Regions from separate parts of the Homo sapiens genome. Here all the other regions are linked to region 1. Evidence: promoter capture Hi-C in 16 types of primary human blood cells and fetal thymus (Javierre and others, 2016). All regions are on one chromosome and are shown on one strand. Each heading gives the region's core, a stretch centred on a gene start or on the middle of the fragment in contact. The rest is flanking DNA. Distances are from core to core; before and after follow the strand shown. Region 1 holds the start of TNFAIP8L2 (TNF alpha induced protein 8 like 2). Region 2 holds the start of CERS2 (ceramide synthase 2). Region 3 overlaps MINDY1 (MINDY lysine 48 deubiquitinase 1).

What was found. Contacts are between HindIII fragments. The CHiCAGO score rates a contact against its expected background, and 5 or more counts as called.
Region 2: the fragment with the promoter of CERS2 here is called in contact with the fragment with the promoter of TNFAIP8L2 in region 1 in 7 of 17 cell types (naive CD8 T cells, total CD8 T cells, naive CD4 T cells and 4 more); the score reaches 6.7 in naive CD8 T cells.
Region 3: a fragment that was not itself captured here is called in contact with the fragment with the promoter of TNFAIP8L2 in region 1 in 7 of 17 cell types (megakaryocytes, M2 macrophages, erythroblasts and 4 more); the score reaches 9.6 in megakaryocytes.

Annotation. Positions count from the first base shown.
Region 1 is chr1:151,154,651-151,158,656 of GRCh38, reverse strand. TNFAIP8L2 (TNF alpha induced protein 8 like 2) reads right to left here and starts at 2,008. Exons shown (of 2, transcript NM_024575.5): 1 at 1,935-2,008. It overlaps TNFAIP8L2-SCNM1 (TNFAIP8L2-SCNM1 readthrough), which reads right to left and starts at 2,008. Exons shown (of 7, transcript NR_144937.2): 1 at 1,935-2,008. It also overlaps a transcript of LYSMD1 not described here. The HindIII fragment of the contact is 1,285 bases long and covers 1,998-3,282 here.
Region 2 is chr1:150,973,126-150,977,131 of GRCh38, reverse strand. CERS2 (ceramide synthase 2) reads left to right here and starts at 2,297. Exons shown (of 11, transcript NM_022075.5): 1 at 2,297-2,513. RefSeq lists enhancers at 1-147, 3,046-3,190, 3,148-4,006, cis regulatory regions at 1-287, 3,118 and silencers at 1,993-2,432, 2,453-2,942. The HindIII fragment of the contact is 5,677 bases long and covers 1-2,800 here.
Region 3 is chr1:150,998,601-151,002,606 of GRCh38, reverse strand. It overlaps MINDY1 (MINDY lysine 48 deubiquitinase 1), which reads left to right. Exons shown (of 10, transcript NM_001376665.1): 2 at 1-442; 3 at 825-882; 4 at 1,293-1,357; 5 at 1,992-2,150; 6 at 2,643-2,745; 7 at 3,096-3,238. Among named protein-coding and RNA genes, the nearest start is that of MINDY1, 6.3 kb to the left of the region's middle. The HindIII fragment of the contact is 1,422 bases long and covers 1,431-2,852 here.

The DNA of each region.
Region 1 (4,006 bases), core at 759-3,258:
AGGCCACAGGCTTCCTTAGAAAGAGAGAAATGGCTTTTCCCTTTTCTGTTGCTTCTTTAGTTTCCATGTCATCATCATCTTTGTTTGTCATCCTCTCCGCCCCCTGGGGCCCCTCAGTCCTCTATGCCTTGCTCCTGCCTGCTTTTTCCCCTTAGTGCTGTAGCAAATCTTGACTCCAAAACAGCCCACGGGAGTGGCGATAGCCCCGGCTGGAGGAATGTGGGCACACGGGAGGCTAGCCTAGCACAAGTTACATCTCAAGGGGAAGTAGGCTGTTGCTGCTGCAGTGAAGACAGGGCTTACCTGACAGATAATTCTTTTTTTTTTTTTTTTTGAGACGGAGTCTTGCTTTGTCACCCAGGCTGGAGTGCAGTGGTGTGATCTCTGTTCACTGCAACCTCCACCTCCCGGGTTCAAGCTATTCTCCTGCCTCAGCTTCCCAAGTAGTTGGGATTACAGGCACCCACCACCACGCCCGGCTAATTTTTGTATTTTTAGTAGAGACAGCGTTTCACCATGTTGGCCAGACTGGTCTCGAACTCCTGACCTCATGATCTGCCCACCTCGGCCTCCCAAAGTGCCGGGAATACAGGCGTGAGCCACCACGCCCAGCCTGACAGAATTCTTACAGCTACCATTTTTGGACACTGACTCTGTGCCATATGTCTGTGTGGCATAGATATTACCATCCTTGTTTTACAGCTAAGCAAATGATACTTACATTAAGTAATTTACCCAAGATCAAACGCAACTCATTTTTTGGCCCCCAAAGCCAGTGGCAGCTAGTGCACTATACTTCCTTTAAAGTAAGAAGCATAAGCATCCCAGGAATCCTAATAGGAGTAATAACTAACATTTACTGAGAACCTACTATATGCAAGTGCTTTACGTCAGTCATCTTAGCCTTCCCAATCCTGTGTAAGGTTAGGGTAGGTATCCCCATTTTGCAATGAGAAAACTGAAGCGAAGAGAAATATAGCAATTTGGCCAAAGTCACTAGTAAATTATAAAGATGGGCTTCAAACCAAATAATCCAGAGAAACCTCCTTCCCCGGAATGCTCCCAGTGTGGTTAAAGCACACTGAGGAAGCACGAGAAGCCAACACCTCAAGAAGGGCAGGCAGTCCTGAAGGTCTGAGCCTTCTGCTACACTGAACTCAGGACCCTCTTGGTGGCATATCAGCTCCATGTGTCCAGGGTTCTCTCCCCATGGTCTTCGCCTGTGGTTCTTCTGGTTGTTTTGCTTCTTACTTCCCCCTCCTCTGCTCTGCAGGATGTGGCTGTGACCGCAGTGAGGAGCAGCCTCGCCCTCTCCCCCAAACCAAAATGGGAGTCTGAAGAGGCAGAGGAGGTGGAGACTGTGGGGGTTTTTTTCCCCAGCTGAATCCTTCCAGTGGAAACCTGAACCTTGCTTTGCTCCCAGCTTGCCTTGGGGCTTTCTGGACCATGCTCCCCAGCCGGAAGAGGAGATTGCTCCATGTGAGCCTTCCTTCCTCCTTGGCCTTCCTGTTACCCAGCTCTCCATTGCCCCCATTGCCGTCTCACATTTATTCCGCTGTCTTCTCCCTCTCTCCCTGTTTCAGTCTCCCTTTTTCTCTTGTCTGGGTCCTCCCTATGATCCTCTGGCCTGGCCATACTCTCCCTCTGGCCCTTACCCATCTATCTCCTTGTTTCCTAAGATTTCCTTGCATTTCGCACACATCCATATGGATGTGGATCCACCTGCATCCCTCAGCCCTGCCCCCACCGCATCCAAAACCAGGTCTTTCAGAGGCTGCCTTGCCACCAGAAAAACTAAGCTAAGCTCTACAAAGGACCCAAGAATTGTACAAGCGAGAGTTTCACAATATGAAAAGCTAAGACTGAAAGAGCTAGAGATTCCTCTGCCACCATTACCCCTAAAGTCTACCATTCTGTCACTGCCGGTCCCTCACCTGCTGTGCTGGGTGCCAGTCTTGCCTTGGATGTTCCCGGAAAGCTTACAGAATGGAGAAGCTTCACTTAGTGTGAGAGCCCTTTGGCTTGGCCCCACCCCTTGAGCCCCGCCTACCTACTCTCTGCTTAACCTCCGGTTCATCACTTCTGTCACCAAGAAGGCCTATGGCCCAAGAGCAACCTAGAAATAAGACAAAGGTCAAAAAGAGTGGAATTCTGTTGGAAATAGTCTCAATTCTTTGAAGGGGGGAAAGGGATTTGCATCCTCCACTCTCAAATTGCTTCTTTCTTTTCTTGCTGCCCAGTTCCTGAAGATCCTGTCCTTACATTTCTACAGTACTGGGAAGGATGTAAAGCCCAAATTTCTGGGGTAGGAGGTCAGTGGGAAAAGTTCTGAAGATTGAAAGGTGGTGCTGTGGGGCAAGTATTTAATATATTATTCCAGTGATTGCCAGGTAAGAGCACAGACTGTCACAACCCTTAATACTGAAGGGAGGAAGGTGCTGGGACCAGGGCTGCTGCACCACAGGTGACCAGCAGGTGCCAGCACAGCACTGAATCACTAGCGTAGAGGAACAAGCCTACTGAGTTGCCTTTTTTTTTTTTTTTTTTTTTTTTTTTGAGACAGAGTTTTGCTCTTGTTGCCCAGGCTGGAGTGCAATGGGGTGATCTCGGCTCACTGCAACCTCTGCCTCCCGGGTTCAAGTGATTCTCCTGCCTCAACCTCCCAAGTAGCTGAAATTACAGGCCTGTGCCACCATGCCTGGCTTATTTTGTATTTTTAGTAGAGACGGTTTCACCATGTTGGCCAGGATCGTCTTGAACTCCTGACCTCAGGTGATCCACCTTGGCCTTCCAGAGTGCTGGGATTACAGGTGTGAGCCAACGCACCCCGCAGGGCCTACTGAGTAGGCTACTGTAGTAGCTACTTTGTAGCTGCTAAAGGGATACAAAATGAGGGGAAGCCACAATTGGGTTTTGTTTGTTTGTTTGTTGTTTTGTTTTTGAGATAGGGTCTCACTCTGTCGCCCAGGCCACAGTGCAGTGGCATCATCACAGCTGACTGCAGCCTTGACCTCCTGGGCTCAAGAGCTCTTCCTACTTCAGCCTCCCAAGTAGCTGGGACCAGAGGCTCACAAGCCTTCCTTTTTTTTGTAGAGAGGAGGGTCTAACTATGTTGCCCAGGCTGAACTTCTAAGCTCAAGCAATCCTCCTACCTTAGTCTCCCAAAGTGTTGGGATTACAGGCGTGAGCCACTGCACCCATCCTGGAAGTCACAGTTGTTGAATGAGACAAAAACACTTGCTATCAAGAATCTTATGGGGAATCTGGCGAGGGAAATAAGCTTAAACATAAAGAACAGTAATACTAGTCAAACAATGCCATTAACTTTAATGGAGATTTAAATAATTTTGAGAGTAAAGAAGCTTAATTATGATAGGGCTGAAGAGGTAGACTTGGAAAGATAGATTCAACTACTTAATAGCCAGAGATGGGGAAGAAGTCCCAGATGATGGGGACGGCATAAGCACATGCAGGAAAAAAACAAAATACAGGACGTTCTCAGGAAGTGGTGATTTATGTCTGGAATGTAAGTTGTTTGAGAGATAAGTGAAGAAGGAAAAAGATCAGATCATGGCAAACTTTAAAAAAGTTGCCCCAGGCCGGGCGCGGTGGCTCATGACTGTAATCCCAGCACTTTGGGAAGCCAAGGTGGGTGGATCACCTGAGGTCAGAAGTTTGAGACCAGCCTGGCCAACGTGGTGAAACCCTGTCTCGGCTGGGCATGGTGGCTCACACCTGTAATCCCAGCACTTTGGGACACCGAGGTGGGCGGATCACGAGGTTAGGAGATCAAGACCATCCTGGCTAACATGGTGAAACCCCATCTCTACTAAAAATACAAAAATTAGCTGGGCATGATGGCACATGCCTGTAGTCCCAGCTACTCGGGAAGCTGAGGCAGGAGATTCGCTTGAACCAGGGAGGCAGAGGTTGTAGTGAGCCGAGATCGCGCCTCTGCCCTCCAGCCTGGTGATAGAGTGAGACTCGGTCTCCAAAAAAAGAAAAG
Region 2 (4,006 bases), core at 1,048-3,547, 180 kb after region 1:
GCCTGGCACTTAGGAAAACCACAAGAAAGGGATTCAGAACTAAAAGAAGGAAGATGAATAGGACGGAGGTGTGGAGAGTGTTAGAGACCCGAAGGTGAGCTGCGGCCCAAAGAGCCCTGGAACTATGCTGGAAAAAAGGTGTGTAGGTGTGTAGCAGATAAGGACTCTGGGGAGAGCACTGAAGAAAGGAAGAGGGAACTTTGGAATTAGAAGGCTGAAGGAGGAGAGTTCCAAGGGGGTAGAAAGAGACAATTGGGATGCAAGGTGGCTCATGCTTGTAATCCCAGCACTTTGAAAGGCCAAGGCGGGTGGATGGTTTGAGCTCAGGAGTTCACGACCAGCGTGAGCGACATGGTGAAATCTCAAAAATACAAAAATTAGCCGGGCATGGTGGCGTCGCCTGTGGTCCCTGCTACTTGGGAGGCTGAGGTGGAGGATAGCTTGAGCCTGGAAGGTCGAGGCTGCAGTGACAGAGTGAGACCTCCTCTCCAAAGGAAAAAAAAAAAAAAGAAAGGAAAGAAAGATACAATGGAAGATATGCTAATAAGGGAGGGAGGAGAAAAACACAGCTGGAGGGGTTGCTGGAAACTGGGAGATCAGGCAGGCCTGGGGCTTAGAAAAGCCTAGAGAAACCCTGGGAGCTGGTTAGGGGCCACCACTCTCATCTTTCCCATGGTGTGTCAGGGCTGCGGGTCCCCCTGAAAAGAGAGGCAGAACAAACAGTTGGGTCGGACAGCCTCTACCTCCTTACCCTCCAGAAAGGGCCTGAGATGAGGGATGGGCCCTCCAACTGGATTAGTGGGGGTTGCACTCCTTCCTACGAGTACTTGACCAGATAAACGGGGAAACAAGCTACTGTCAGAGGCTCTGATTGCAACAGCATAAAAAAGGCAATACTTCATCTAGGTGAGAAATTTGACAAAAGTACCTCTCCATGGAGTAAGCTGCAGCTCTCCCTGTATAGGAGCCCTCAAATACATCTTAGTCACCACTCGTTCACGTTAGGAGTTAAGACCAGCTTTCTAGGAAAACCATGTTGCATCTTCCAACAGTAATTACTTCTGAAACAGTAATTTTACCACACGACTCAAGGGGAAAACTTTTTTTTTTTAAATTTATAAAGGAGTTGGGGGTCTCGCTATGTTGACCAGGCTGGTCTTGAACTCTGACCTCAAGTGATCTGCCCACCTCGGCCACCCAAAGTGCTGAGATTACAGGCATAAGCCACGGCGCCAGGCCAAGGGGAGAACACTTTTTTTTTTTTTTTCCTGAGACGGAGTCTCACTCTGTCGCCCAGGCTGGAGTGCAGTGGCGAGATCTCGGCTCACTGCAAACTCCACCTCCAGGGTTCAAGCGATTCTCGTGGCTCAGCCTCCCGAGTAGCTGGGATTACAAGCGCGAGCCACCGTGCCCGGCTAATTTTTGTATTTTTAGTAGAGACAGGGTTTAACCATGTTGGCCAGGGTGGTCTCGAACGCCTGACCTCAGGTGATCTGCCCGCCTCGGCCTCCCAAAGTGCTGGGATTACAGGCGTGAGCCACCGCGCCCGGCCGGAAAACACTTTTTAACACGAAATCGAATACGGATAAACGTGGTGTCATTTGAAAACTCATACATTTTACAAAACAAAAGTTGGGGTGGCTCTTTCAGACAGGGCCGCCGGGTGTGCGCAAGTTCGGGTTTGCTCTTCCTTGCCACGGGGGTAGGTCCCGTAGCACCTAGGTGGAAAGGCCGCGGCTTTTACGGCGGGGTAGGCGAGGGTCGCCCGAGTGATCGCAGGCTCCGACTGGGTCTCGAGGGTCGGCTGCTTCGGTCTGCCCTGGAGAGGTTTTCAGCTTCGGCGCGAGGCACTTGGGCAGGATCCCCGGGCTGCACCCTCCTCCGCCCGCGCCCCGTGGGGCTGGAAGTGGGAATGTGCCCACCCTGGCGGGGACCGGGGGCCGCACAGCAGTTGGGGGTGGGTGGGGGTGGGTAGGAGTAAGGGGACAGGGACACCGCCGCTCGGAGCCCGGGACCCCGCGGCATCCAGTGCGTCTGTGTCGGTCCCAGTGGGAGACCTCCCACCCCGAAAAGAGACCGAAGTGGCGGAAGGAGCCCGCACCCGCCTCCCCAGGTCGGCGGTTTCTCTAGCGCAAGGTGACGGGCGTGGACGCGGCTGTGGGGCCGGGAGCGGAGGGTTGGGGTCTGGCCTCCCGCGCCGGGGCGAAGGGGCAGCCGCAGCGCAGAGGCCCGCCCCGCCCTCCCCTCCCGTCACGCCCAGCCTCCCGGCCCTTGGGCTGCTCGCGGCCTTTTTTTCCCGGCTGGGCTCGGGCTCAGCTCGACTGGGCTCGGCGGGCGGCGGCGGCGGCGCCGGCGGCTGGCGGAGGAGGGAGGGCGAGGGCGGGCGCGGGCCGGCGGGCGGGCGGAAGAGGGAGGAGAGGCGCGGGGAGCCAGGCCTCGGGGCCTCGGAGCAACCACCCGAGCAGACGGAGTACACGGAGCAGCGGCCCCGGCCCCGCCAACGCTGCCGCCGGGTGAGTCGGGGCCCCCGCCCGGCGCCCGAGCCCCGCGCGGGGGTGGGAAGGGGCTGCGGAAAAGTTGGGAGCCCCGGGTGCCGCTTTGTCGCGGGGCCGCGGAGGGGTCGGGCTGGGAAGGCCGCGGGGCCGGGGCGAGGAGGGAGGCGGCGCTGGCGGGGGGCGCTGCGGGCGCTCATGGCGGCGGCCGCCGGGTAAGGCGGGCGCAGCGCCTCAAGGGAGCGGCCGGGGCCGGCGGGCCTGGCGCCGCGGTGTCCGCGGCAGCGCCGCCCTGAGCCGGAGAAGCTTTCCCGGGCAACAGGTAGGGCGGAAGGTGGGGACGCGGGGGCTGCGGGCGACGGGGCCGAGCCGTGGGCTTCCCTTTGTTGGGGAGTGGAGGAGCTTGGTGACCATTGGCGCGAGAGCCTCCACCCTGGCAGCGGCCCGCGGGGTTGCCCTGGCCTGGACGCGTCCTGTGGCTTGGGTGGGAGGAGAGGGGAGGGCCCTGCCCCGTTTTCTTCCTACCGGCCCACCGTGCCCACCTCGCAGGCGAGGTCAGAGCTTCCATGTGCTTAACGGGAAACAGGAAGGAGCGGCCCGGAGCGCCTGCCCCGGCCCGGTAGGGCTAAGGCATACCGTTATGAGGTGTGGATGGCTGGCAAGGGAGCTCCTGGTGGAACTGGCTTTCTGGGCCGTAGCTTGTTAATCACTAGAGGCCCGTGGCAAGTGGGTTGACTGCAGGTGTAGAGCACTCATCTTTAGCCTGCAGTTGGAGTCTCTCCCTCCCTAAGCCTAGCTCCTGGCATCAAAACCTGGTTTCAGTCACCTGAGTTGCCAGGCCCAGGTTCAGGGGGTTCTGAGGATCGTGGCGAATGCAGTGAGCCCCTGTTCCTGGAGAAGTGAGTCCGAGCAGGCCTCCAGCAGGCAGTCACCCCCATATCTGTGCTGGGGCAGGGGTGGGTGGCGGTTGCTGCCGCATACCGGAGTCGGGATGACCGCACCGGGGTGTGAGTGGCTGCACATGTAAAGGGGCTCCTAAGGGTAAGGACTTGCCTGCAGTCCTGTCCCTGAGGACCTGGCGCTGACCATACCGTGATCTGCACAGTCTGTTCCAGAGAGGGATCCTTTTCTCCCCTGGTCCCCCACTTCCCTCACTGGGGCCTCTGGCCAGATTTTCCCCTGGGAGGAAGGGCCTCCTTTTACCCCTGTCACTGGCCATAGGCTGGCTGATCCCTCACTGTGTCCTTCAACACCGCCCCAGCTGTCTCTCAAACCCACCGGCGTCTCCCTGCCCCTGGGGCCATAGTCTCATGCAGTGTTTTGGTCCGTGGAGGCCTTTGGTGGGACTTTGCAGACAAGCTGTAGGCCAGATGAGGCTGAGGACTACTGTTCTGACTGCCTCTCACCCACCTCTTTTTTACAATCTGGCTTATTTTGAGGCCCATCCTGCAGCCTGGAGGGATAACACACCTCTCATTGGCTCCATCCATGGCTTGTAGACTTCTAGTACATGA
Region 3 (4,006 bases), core at 892-3,391, 160 kb after region 1:
TCAGCCTGAGGATCCAGCCCCTGGTAAGGCCGGGACTGCAGAAGCAGTCATCCCTGAAAACCATGAGGTTCTGGCAGGCCCAGATGAGCACCCTCAGGACACAGATGCAAGAGATGCTGATGGGGAGGCTAGAGAACGGGAGCCAGCAGACCAAGCTTTGCTGCCTAGCCAGTGTGGGGACAACCTTGAGTCCCCTCTGCCTGAAGCTAGCTCAGCTCCACCGGGGCCAACCCTTGGGACACTGCCTGAAGTAGAGACAATAAGGGCATGCTCCATGCCCCAGGAGCTTCCTCAGTCCCCCAGGACCCGACAGCCTGAGCCAGATTTCTACTGTGTCAAGTGGATCCCTTGGAAAGGAGAACAGACACCCATCATCACCCAGAGCACTAACGGCCCTTGCCCTCTCCTTGCCATCATGAACATCCTCTTTCTTCAGTGGAAGGTAAGAGAACATGCAGTTAGGGGTGCAAAAAATATCAGGGAGTACTCTTCCCTGACTTACTTCCTTGATCATCCTGATGTCCTCAAACTAGTCAAAACTTTTCAGATTGTTCTCCCTATTTCTCCAGCTTGAGCAAATGAGATAAGATGTTCCTAAAAACAAAGAAAAAAAAAAAAGAGGAAGATCTGTCCTACCCCTGTATCTCCTACTCCCTAGCAAATGCACATGCCTTGCAAGATTTCACATTCATTCCCTTGTGCCAGTTGCAAGCCTTTTTTCCTACCCCACCCTACTACTGGAGCTCCCCCTTGCCTTTCCATGGGTTCTTCCTTCAGTGCTCTTTGGAGGAAAGCACACACGTGATCACCCCTTCTGCCTCCAGGTGAAGCTCCCCCCGCAGAAGGAAGTGATCACATCGGATGAGCTCATGGCCCATCTTGGTGAGTGACTGGGCGTTGAAGAGGAATTACCCAAGGGGCTCCAGAGCTATCCACTCAGCCAGAAATCCAGACTATTCAGGGATCTCCATTTGGGGGTTCTGATACAGCAGGGAGGGTAAGGGTCTATGGGGCTTCTCTGCAAGGCTGGAGAATGAAAAGCAAAGGCGTCGGGAGTCCTGGGTTGTAACACCAATTCTGCCCTTAGCTTTTGTATCTGACCCTGGGTGGGCCGTTCACCTTTATGAGGCTGTCGCCTCCTCTGAGAAATGAAGAGTCTGGATTAGACTCTAAGTATTTTCCAGCTCTGAAAATCTGTGTTCTGTGACATTACCCGCATTCTCCAGGAGAAGAGGAAACTTAGCTTTTGGGATGATTGGTGGGGTAAGCTGATAAGGGGCCCTGTCTTGTAGGAAACTGCCTCCTGTCCATCAAGCCCCAGGAGAAGTCAGAGGGACTTCAGCTTAATTTTCAGCAGGTGAGGCAAAAGGTCTGCAGGCATAGGGGTTTGCAGGTTTGTAAGGGGACATCTTGTAATACTAAGATAAGCTTTTGTTGCTTCTTCAGAGGTTTCCTTGAACCATGATTTCATTCTGCAGGAGTCAGAGGAGAGTTTATCTTTGTCCTAGAAAATATGTTCATTGGCCGGGTGCTCACACCTGTAATCCCAGCACTTTGAGATGCCAAAGCGGGAGGATCACTTGAGGCCAGGAGTTCGAGGCCAGCCTGGGCAACATAATAATACCCCTGTCTCTAAAAAAAACCATTTTTTTTTTCAAGAATTAGCCAGGTATGGCGGTGCGTGCCTGTAGTCCCAGCTACTCAGGAGGCTGAGGTGGGAGGGTCACTTGAAACCAAGAGTTTGAGGCTGCAGTGAGCTAGGATCACACCACTGCACTCCAGCCTGGATGAAAGAATTAGACTTAGACTCTCAAAGAAAAACAATGTTCATTTATATAAGATAGAGAAGGGTTGAGGCAAGGGAGAAATGGAGTGGCTTGTAAGAGAATCAGGGAAGAAGAGCAGCAAGGTTAATTTTTAATTTCTGCAGGTGGGAGTGGAGTGGTGGGAGAGAAGGCTAGAATCTCCATCATTTTTTTTTCTACCCCCAGAATGTGGATGATGCAATGACAGTGCTGCCTAAACTGGCCACAGGTCTGGATGTCAATGTGCGATTCACAGGCGTCTCTGATTTTGAGTATACACCCGAGTGCAGTGTCTTTGACCTGCTAGGCATACCTCTGTACCATGGCTGGCTTGTTGATCCACAGGTGAGGGTGGGAGGGCCCACTGGGACCTTATCCAGCTCAAGCTGACATGAGAGAGGCAAATTTTTGTCGGGTAGAGGTTAGGGAGTTAGGGGTTAGATTGGCTTGGGAGGGAAATAGTGTTTAGAGACTGGACCCAGTACAGAATTCCTTGAATTTTAATCTATTTTGGGGGTAACATGCAAATACAAGCAAACTACATGCAAATAGGTCAGTTCTTTAGACATCAAAAATTCAGGAAGCAGATGGGTTTGGTGGCACATGCCTGTATTCCCAGCTACTTGGGAGGAGTTCGAGGCCAGTCTGGGCAACATAGCAACCCTATGATGAATGGTTCCTGAAATTTTTTTCTTTTTTGAGAGACCAAAAAAAAAAAGTGTTTAGGAACCATTCATCACAGGGTTGTAGTCCTTGTGAGCTTTGTTCATTTCCTTCCTTAAAAAAGAAAAAAAAATCCCAATTTTTTTGGTATCCCACATCCCACTACCCAAGCAGAGTCCTGAGGCTGTGCGTGCAGTTGGGAAACTGAGTTACAACCAGCTGGTGGAGAGGATCATCACCTGCAAACACTCCAGTGACACCAACCTCGTGACAGAAGGTGACATTCCTCCCCTTCTCATGGATAGTATGTGGAGGGAATGACAGCTACTTAGGCTTATTTTTTATTGGGTGTCATCTCCTACCACATCCCACTAGATATAAGCTTCACAAGAAGGAGCTTGGGGAATTTCTGTTTAGTTCATTGAGGTATCCCCAGTGCCTGGCACAAGGTAGCTGCTCTATTATAAGTATTTGTTAAGTGAATGAATACAGCCAGGTTTCAAGAAAGGGACGTCAGAAGGTGGGACTGACCCCCCGGGGCTTTTGACAGGGGCTCTCTGGATGGTCCTTCCTGTTGTGGACCTTGAATTTAAGCCAAGTTTCCCCCGACTCGTCCCTTTCTGGCAGGCCTGATTGCAGAGCAGTTCCTGGAGACCACCGCGGCCCAGCTGACCTACCACGGACTGTGTGAGCTGACAGCAGCTGCTAAGGAGGGTGAACTTAGCGTCTTTTTCCGAAACAACCACTTTAGCACCATGACTAAGCATAAGGTAATGCGAGTTTGGGGGTGGCGTGCTGCGGTGCTGTCATTTCCTGGTGCCTTTTTCTCGTGGGTCCAGCTGGGATCAGCTAGATTAAGCCGTGGTAGCAAGTGACCCCTCAAATCCCTGTGGTTTACCACAACAAAGGTTCATTTCCCGCTCCTGGTGCGTGTCCACTGTGGACTGGCTACGGTTCTGTCCCACACCATCTTCACTCTGGGACCCAGCTGACAAAAGATCCTTTATCTGGAATATATGTGGGAACAGAGAGAGAGAGGGGCACTGTGCACTCATGCTTAGAGCTTCTGTTTGGAAATGACACATGTCATTTCTGCTCACATCTTCTGGCCAGAGCAAGCCATAAGGGATAAGCCTGCCGTCGATGGGACAGGAAAGTATGATCCTCCCCTAGGAGGGGGCAGTGGAATTTTTAAACAATGCTGGTCTTCAAAAGTTAGAAACTGCCAAAGCTCTCTAGGATTTGAGCAGCAGAGGGAGGGGTCTCTGGTTCTCAAAGGATTTATCCTAAGAGCCATCAGGCAAGCCCAGAGAACAATGGGAAATGGGGGGAGCAGGGTCTTATGTGGCATCTCAGCCCCAACGACTCCATGCCACGCTTAGCCAGAATGACCACCGTGCTCACACCCAACTGGACATACACTCAGACATCCCTTTCTTCCCCCCAAGGCCACACATATTTGTAAAAGGTCCGCATGCTCAGGGTCCGGGTGCGGTGGCTCATGCCTGTAATCCCAGCACTTTGGGAGGCCGAGGCGG